Linked DNA regions of Homo sapiens: regions 1 and 3 are each linked to region 2. Evidence: promoter capture Hi-C in human tissues and cell types (Jung and others, 2019). All regions are on one chromosome and are shown on one strand. The core of a region is centred on a gene start or on the middle of the fragment in contact, and the rest is flanking DNA. Distances in the headings are between cores, read along the strand shown. Region 1 overlaps YTHDF2 (YTH N6-methyladenosine RNA binding protein F2). Region 2 holds the start of SESN2 (sestrin 2). Region 3 overlaps FAM76A (family with sequence similarity 76 member A).

What was found. The method cuts DNA at HindIII sites, captures the fragments that hold promoters and counts their contacts. A contact is called where the count stands out against the background at its distance.
Region 1: a contact is called between a fragment that was not itself captured here and the fragment with the promoter of SESN2 in region 2, in 1 of the 25 tissues and cell types used here (dorsolateral prefrontal cortex).
Region 3: a fragment that was not itself captured here is called in contact with the fragment with the promoter of SESN2 in region 2 in 1 of the 25 tissues and cell types used here (dorsolateral prefrontal cortex).

The regions. Positions count from the first base shown.
Region 1 is chr1:28,753,026-28,755,725 of GRCh38, forward strand. All of the region lies in intron 4 of YTHDF2 (YTH N6-methyladenosine RNA binding protein F2), which reads left to right. Among named protein-coding and RNA genes, the nearest start is that of YTHDF2, 17 kb to the left of the region's middle. RefSeq lists an enhancer at 1,486-1,985. The HindIII fragment of the contact is 8,261 bases long and covers 1-2,700 here.
Region 2 is chr1:28,258,122-28,260,821 of GRCh38, forward strand. It overlaps SESN2 (sestrin 2), which reads left to right and starts at 1,397. Exons shown (of 10, transcript NM_031459.5): 1 at 1,397-1,816. The coding sequence starts at 1,727. RefSeq lists enhancers at 968-1,147, 1,140-1,988 and silencers at 1,258-1,467, 2,248-2,307. The HindIII fragment of the contact is 10,821 bases long and covers 1-2,700 here.
Region 3 is chr1:27,760,583-27,763,325 of GRCh38, forward strand. FAM76A (family with sequence similarity 76 member A) reads left to right here. Exons shown (of 9, transcript NM_152660.3): 9 at 1-2,534. Among named protein-coding and RNA genes, the nearest start is that of STX12, 11 kb to the right of the region's middle. The HindIII fragment of the contact is 6,157 bases long and covers 1-2,743 here.

The DNA of each region.
Region 1 (2,700 bases), core at 46-2,545, 490 kb after region 2:
CAGCAGGAGACTGTCCCTAGAAAAAAAAATTTTTTTGAGGAAATATTCTAATATTTGAAAAACTATTACCCAGTTTAGCAAAGAAGTTGCTCAAAACATGTTTCATGTTTGTATATTGGAACTTACACCTGGAGAGCCACTGAGTCTCTAACCCCGAAGCTCATGGACTACTCCATGATCTATGAAGTTTGCCAGATAGAAAAGTAGAGAAATGGCTAGGTGCAGTGGCTCATGCCCGTAATCCTCGCACTTTGGGGAGGCTGCAGCAAGAGAATCACTTGAACCCAGGAGTTTGAGACCAGCCTAGGCAACATAATGAAATCCTGCCTCTCCAAAAAAAAAAAAAAAAAAAAAAAAAAAAAAAAAAAAAAAATCAGCCAGGTGTGATGAGGCACACCTGTAGTCCTAGTTGCTCAGGAGGCTGAGACAGGAGGATTGCTTGAGCCCGGGACGTCAAGTCTGCAGTGAGTCATGATGGTACCACTGTACTCCAGTCTGGGCACAGTGAGACCCTGTCTTCCAAAAAATGGCATTCTAGTAAGAGCATGTTAAAAACATAGTCTTGAGAATGCTTATGGTATGTTTTCAGAATGAGAAGTTTAATGTGGTCTAGAATGGTAAGTGATAACGCTGGAGAGATTGGTTGGGCAAGTATATGAAGAGTTTCAGGATTTTATTCTTTTTTTTTTTTTTTTTCTGAGACAAAAATCTCGCTTTGTCCCCCAGGCTGGAGTGCAATGGCGCGATCTTGGCTCGCTGCAGCCTCCCCCTCCCAGGTTCAAGCGATTCTCCTGCCTCAGCCTCCCGAGTAGCTGGGATTACAGGTGCCTGTCACCACGCCCAGCTAATTTTTGTATTTTTAGTGGTGACAGGGTTTCATCATGTTGGCTAGGCTGGTCTCAAACTCCTGACCTCAGGTGATCTGCCTGCCTTGGCCTCCCAAAGTGCTGGGATCACAGGTGTGAGCCACTGCGCTCGGCCTAGGATTTTATTCTTTACCTGTGTTTTAGTTTGGTTGTAAGGGAGGGTAGTTAATTAGGGAATAACAGTTTGGAGGATGGGAAGGATGAAACACTTACTGAGCATTGACCTTGTTAAGCACCATGCTAGGTACTTTCATAGCCTTACTTTAATCCCCATACCAACCTGGGAGGCAGTATCCTGTATTTATAGATCAACAAATGGAAGCTTAGGAAAGCAACTTATCAAAACATCTATGAGGCTGGGTGAGTTGGCTCACGCCTCTAATTCCAGCACTTTGGGAGGCCAAGGTTGGCAGGTCATTTGAGGCCATGAGTTTGATACCAGCCTGGCCAACATGGCGAAACACTGTCTCTACTAAAAATACAAAAAAATTAGCCGGGCGTGGTGACGGGCGCCTGTAGTCCCAGCTACTCAGGAGGCTGAGGCAGGAGAATGGTGTGAACACTGGAGGCGGAGTTTGCAGTGAGCTGAGATAGCGCTACTGCACTCCAGCCTGGGCGAAAGAGCGAGACTGTGTCTCAAAAAAAAAATTGGCCGGGCGCGGTGGCTCATGCCTGTAATCCCAGCACTTTGGGAGGCTGAGGTGGGTAGTTCGCAAGGTCAGGAGTTCAAGACCAGCCTGGCAACATGGTGAAACCCCATCTCTACTAAAAAATTAGCTGGGCGTGGTGGTGGGTGCCTGTATTCAGGGGGCTGGGGCAGGAGAATCACTTGAAACCAGAAGGCGGCAGTTGCAGTGAGCCGAGATTGCTCCACTGCACTCCAGCCTGGGCAATGAGAGCAAAACTTCGTCTCAAACAAACAAAAAAATTAGCCAAGAGTGGTGGTGTGTGCCTATAGTCCTATAGTCCCAGCTACTCAGGGAGCTGAGGGATGAGAATCACTTGAACCTGGGAGGCAGAGGTTACAGTGAGCCGAGATCGCAACACTGCATTCCAGCCTGGGTGACAGCTCAAAAAAAAAAAAAAAAAAAAAGGGGTGGGAGATGGCTCAGAGACTAAACGAGATGCTTTTACAGTATTCTGGGGAAAAAAAGATGATGAGGGCCTGAACCAGGACAGTGGGAACGGGAAACTGGATATGAAGAATGTGGTAGACATATTTGTTGACTAGTTTTTCAAAAATTAAAGATGATGAGAGGAGCAGCAGTTTAGGGTTAGGATTTGGGGTTGTATTGGCTTTTGGAAATAGTTTCAGGTGCCTGTGATAGTAGCAGCAGCCAGGTGATAGTAGGCAGCTGGGAATCTGGAGCTCAGATTGTTGACAGGAATTTGAATTTTCAACCCTCAGGATAGGTAAAGGCATGGAAGAGTTTGACTTTTCAAAGATTCTTGTAATAAGAATGGCTAACAGTTATTGAATGCTCTGTACAGTGTCTAGCATACAGTTGTCTTGAATATATATTTAAATGTATGTTCATTTAATTCTTGTATCCTTGTGAGGTAGGTATAAGTAGCTCAGTTTTACTGATGAAAACATTAAAACACAGAAAAGAGTAAATAACTTTGCAAAGGCACATGAGATACGAAAGTAAAGCTGGTGTTCTAATTCTGCAGCGTGGTTCTAGAGCCAACACGAGTGAGAGAAAAGGACTATGGAAAAAGTTCCCCAGAAATAACAAAATTTGAAGAATAAAGAGGGAGCAAGTGAAAGAGATTGAGAGAGAATAGTTTGAGTTTCAGAAAGAGAACAAGGAAGGGGCTATTCAGGTTGAGT
Region 2 (2,700 bases), core at 147-2,646:
AATTACAATACAAGGCAGAATGTGGCTGGACATGGTGGCTCATGCCTATAATCCTAGCACTTTGGGAGGCTGAGGTGAGAGAATCGCTTGAGCTCAGGAGTTTGAGACCAGCCTGGGCAACATATTGAGACCCTGTCTCTATTTACTAAAAAACAAAAAACAAAAACAAAAAAACAGAAAACAAAAAAACAAAAAACAAAAAAAACTAGGTAGAATGTGATACATGTGAAAAGAGATCCAGCTCAAGTGCCTTGGGAGCTCAGGGGAGGGTGAGATTAATCTCTTTTTCCCAAGAATCTGGAGGCAGGAAACCAAGTCGGTTTCATCTTTGGAATTGTAAGCTTAGACTTAGAAGTCTCAGAGGGGGACTTGGGGGTCTTATCCACCCTCACCCCTGGCAGGATTCCCTGTCTAGAATAAACAATAACTTTAAAATGGAAACAAAAAAAGGAGCTCTGAAGGAAAACTGTGAAGGAAGAGGCTCCGTTTGAAATGAATAGAAAATGAATTTAGCTTGGAGGTGCTGAGGTGTTGGTAGAGGCAACTTTCTGGCAAGAGGCGAGTTGAAGGCCAGGAAGTGAATGAGATCAGGGAGAGTGTCTGGAGGGAAGAGGGGCAAAAACAAACTGGGGAAGCACCCACGTTTTAGGAAGTGGGTGGTGAAAGAGGAGTCAGAGAAGGCCAGAGGGAGAGGTGAGCAAAGATCCAGCAGAACACCTTGTTACAAAGTTTCGAGGAGGGTGGGAGGGGTGGAAGCCAGGACGGGTAGCAGAAGGAAGAAAACTTCCAGCAATAGGGATTGAGGTTCCACACGAAGTTACCAATGACATTTCAAGGAATGAAGGCTTTTCCTGAGGCTCCACAAATAAGGTGAATTCCCTGTGTCTCGCATCTTTGGAGCTTCCCCGAGGCCAGGGGGAGCAGGGTTGTGCCCTCTGACCTCTAAATATCTGGGGTTCAGTTCTATAATTAGCAGCACCGGATAGGACGCGAGCCAAACCTCTCTTAACCCTAGCCAGTCCCTCCAGGAACTGAAAAGATGAAGAATTCATTTAGGAGATTTCACACTCGGCTGTTTGGCCTAGCCCAGTGAAGTCCCTTTTCATCACGCAACCCTAATGACTCTTAGGGCTGTCACTGCCGTCTGGTGTTGCCAGGGATCTGACTAAACCGTCTTGCAAAAGTTTGCAGCATTCACCCGAGGCGGACTACAACTCCCAGAATTCCGGGCGCTCCCCGGTGCTGATTGGCGGAGCCCGTGACTCCAGGGGGCGGAGTTTCCCCCGCCTCCCCGGGGAAACAGACCTCTGATTGGCTGGACCGCCGGGCTTTTGTGTCCCCGCCCTCCCCCGGGGACCGCAGCGGGCTGAACTGCTGGTGTCAGAGCCCGGCGAGCGCTGGCAGTTCCGCGGCGGGGATGCTGAGGAGCGCTGGGTCCGGGAGCAGCCCTGGCCCCTGCGGACTTCCGAGGCCGTGAAAACCCCTGCGCTGCGGCCCTTCCCAGGCCCCCGAGGCCGTTCGCCGTTCCCGAAGCCCGACTGGGGGAAGAGTCCAGCACCAAAGCGGCCGTTCTCGGATTCCGGAGCGTTCTGGAGCCCCGAGAGACGCCCCGGGGTTCTAGAAGCTCCCCGGCGGCGCCCAGTCCCGGCTTCATTCGGGCGTCCCTCCGAAACCCACTCGGGTGCACGGGTCGTCGGCGAGCCGCGACCGGGTCCTGGCGCGCACCATGATCGTGGCGGACTCCGAGTGCCGCGCAGAGCTCAAGGACTACCTGCGGTTCGCCCCGGGCGGCGTCGGCGACTCGGGCCCCGGAGAGGTAAGCGGCGGCCGCGCGACGCCCCTCTTCCCTGGAACCCCGAACCGCGTCTGAGCCTCAGGCTGTCCGGAGCTGAGTCGGTGTGTCCTGGGCTCGGGGAGGGAAAGCCGAGCGCGTAACCCGGGACCCGGGTTGCATCAACTGGCAGCCGCGGCCCTCGGCACCCCTCCCCCACTCTGTCTCCCCTCTCCCTCCTTCTCCCCCTCCCTCTCCCCCTCCTCCCTCCCTCTCCCCCTCTCCCTCACCGCCCCACCCCAGGGCCGCGGATCCTTCCTCGGCTCCCTCGGACTCCTGGCCAATGAGGGAGAAGCCTTCTGGAGGCTCTCCGAGCTTTGGGCTCCTGAGCGTCTTCAAGTCCAGGCAAATCCCGGCCGGAGCGGCCAGACCACTCCTCCTCCCCGCCCCCTTCCGCGGAGTCCCTTCCTCTTCGCGGGGGCCGGCGGGCAGAGGACCCTTCCTGGGGTGCCTCCCGGCTCCTGTCCCCCAGCGCGGGGCGTAGGCACCTGGGACTGGCCAGTGAAAGTCGACCTCATCCTATGTCCACCGCACTCCTGCTTTGGAGGGAGAGCGCAGGGGCTCTGGGGGCTTGGCGGGCCGCCCGGTACGCGGCGGCGGCAGCCAAAGCTGGGGGGAGAGGGGACAACCCTGGTCGCGGCTTCCGAAGCCAAGCGCGGGTTAGGCTGCGCCCTGCTAAGTAAGTGGTCTGAAGGCCCAGAAGTTTGTTTTCCAGAAATTCCTCCCCCACCCTCCCTTCGCGCCGCTCCCCTCCACCCCCCCGCATTCGCATCCCGGCATAGCCCGCAGGGGCTTTGCAGGGAGACCGGGAATTAGGCTGGACCTAACCAGACTGACAGTTCGCACTCCCCCACCACTACCAGCAGCAG
Region 3 (2,743 bases), core at 115-2,614, 500 kb before region 2:
AGACCTCAAGGAGGCTCCCTAGCAACAGCAAATGGAGTTGTCCAGGGTTAGGGTTGGAGACCTGGCTGTTCTGTGGGAATTGCAAGCTTTCTTAAGAAATCTCTATTTTATTACAGTTATCCTTCTTTGTGCGATTGCAGTGGGCTGAATGGAAACACCTGGTTTGTGCTGTGTTAGACTGCATGCTTGAGTGTTTGGGATTTCAAGCTCGCTCTCTTTCTCTCACTATTAGGACTTTTCTTTTTCTTCTTCCTCTTCTCTCTATTTTGGTTCTATTCTTTTTTTTTCTTTTTTCTTTTTTTTTTTTTTTTTTTTTTTGTGGTGGTCACTGCTCAGTGTAATGTGCAGAATGATTTGTTTTTTGTTTTTTTTTTTTTTTTTGGTCCTTCATTGCATCCTGCCATACCCATGAGCAAACAGTTTGGCATTAATTATATATCACTGCCACCCTCTGAACTTTGAAAACTGCCATCTTCAGACTTGGTATAATGGAAGAGGCTTTCTCTCTCCAATAAACCTTTTGCTTCAGGGTATACTCTTCGGTTTTTTTCCAGATGTATTATGTATGAACTTTGTACTATGTATAGCCAGAGTTTTATTTATTTTTTAAAAAAGAAACTTTTTCTTGATAAAGGAATAATGGTGGTCTAGCTAGTTCTTGTAAAAGTGATGCCTCTTGAAAAAAAAACAGTCCTATTCACTAGCTTTTAGTAAAAGAATCAGATCTTTTCTTTCTTGTTACCTTGGAGTCTTAAAAACTGATTGCTAAGGTGAAACAATTCAATGCATAAGTATGGAGCTAAGTGCCTTTTGGAGGATTTCTTGGAAGAGCATTTATGGAGATACTTAAGGGAGGTAGCAAAGATTTGAACCGTCTGTCTTTTTAAGTAAGGGCAGAAAGCAAGGTTGTCCAGGTTGTACTGGACACTTCTCTCCCCACCCCTTTCCTGATTGTTTTATGTGATTGATTTTAAATTCTCACACTGCCACTTCTTTAAAAAATAAAATCCTTTATTTGCTTATATCAGTTGTCATACTGGGCTGCTGTCAGAGAATGTTTTTTTACATGAATGAACAGATTAAAAATGGAATAATATGGTCGGGTGCGGTGGCTCACGCCTGTAATACCAGCAATTTGGGAGGCCAAGGCGGGTGGATCATTTGAGGTTAGGAGTTTGAGACCATCCTGGCCAACATGGTAAAACCCCATCTGTACTAAAAAAATACAAAAATTAGCCGGGCCTGGTGGCATGCACCTGTAATCCCAGCTACCCAGGAGGCTGAGGCAGGAGAACTGCTCGAATCCCGGGAGGCAGAGGTTGCAATGAGCTGAAATCGCAACACTGCACTGCAGCCTGGGCAATGGAGTGAGACTCCGTCTCAAAAAAAAAAAAAAAAGGAATAATATTTGAACTACAGAGCATTTTTGGGGTCAGCATGAGCTGCTCTAGTAAGGACTCTTGAGTCTGGGAAAAGTGGTATCACTATACCTTCTCCCCACTCCTCACCCACCCGAGCCCATACACTCCCTGCTTTTCATGGATATGTATTGAAAACAGGTGCTTCTCAGAAGCACTTTGCCTCAACCAGAGTTATGTATGCCCTGCCTATCTTCCCTTCTTAACCCTGTAGGAATATGGATTTACTTTTCCAGGAAAGGGGATAGATTTACATTTCTAGGCATACTCTCAGGTCCTCTATGTGATGTTTGTGAAAGGAATTAGGGTGTGTCATGTGTGCCATGAAACAACAAAACCAACTACCCTAGAATCATTTATGCAGGGGGTACTAGAGTTAGAAATAATAATGAGGGCAGATAACATTTGTACCTCAGTCTACCAAAAAATTATAGTACTAAATTTAACTTCTAGGCGTTTCCTGGAAGCAGATGCTCTATAATTTGTGATAGCATTCTCATAAATGGAGTCCTACACATAATTGGACAGAGATGTGGAAATGGTGGTTTCCTTCTGATAAGGGATACAGTGGACCATGTCGCTTATATATCACCCTACTAGGGGATATAATTTTCCCTTCTAAGCAAGGGAAATGGCAGTGCTAAATAGTTTTGTAAAGTTTTTGAATGAGAAGCTTTTAGGTAAAGATAAACTGTCATAATATTTTTCAGATGCATTTGCATTGACTATGGGAGAAAAATTAGGGGGAAATGACAGTCATGGTGTTTTTTTTTAATTTTAAGGACTGAAATTCTGTTACATGATGTATGACAATATAAAAACATACTTAGTTTTATACTAAATCTTTTTTTAAGGTCTTGGCATTTAATATAAAGCAAATTCACACGTTTTCTAACTTTCCATAAGTTCCAAAAAGGGAAAGAAGAAACCTCAGTCTTGAAATTTTGATTTTTAAAAATCATGACACTGTTTTACCATGAAATTGAGTAGCTAACTTTTGGTAACACCTTTTGTTTCTTTGTATGTTTGTAATAATGGACATTTTAAAACACAGGAATGTTTTGGTTTGTACAGACTTTGACAAATGTGTGTTAATAAAAATTCATATTGACTCAAGTGTAATTGTTGGATTTTGTTTTTATTTCTTGCTGTTTACCAGTAGACATACCCCGTTATCCCCTTCAGCCCTTCAGCCTAGAAAAGTTTGTCTTGCTTATAGACTTAAAAAATTAAAAGCCTAACTGCTAATTGGGAATTTCCTGTCCATTAGAGAATAAACTCTTTCTTTCTCTCTTCTATGACTGTTTTGAGACAGAGTCTCACTC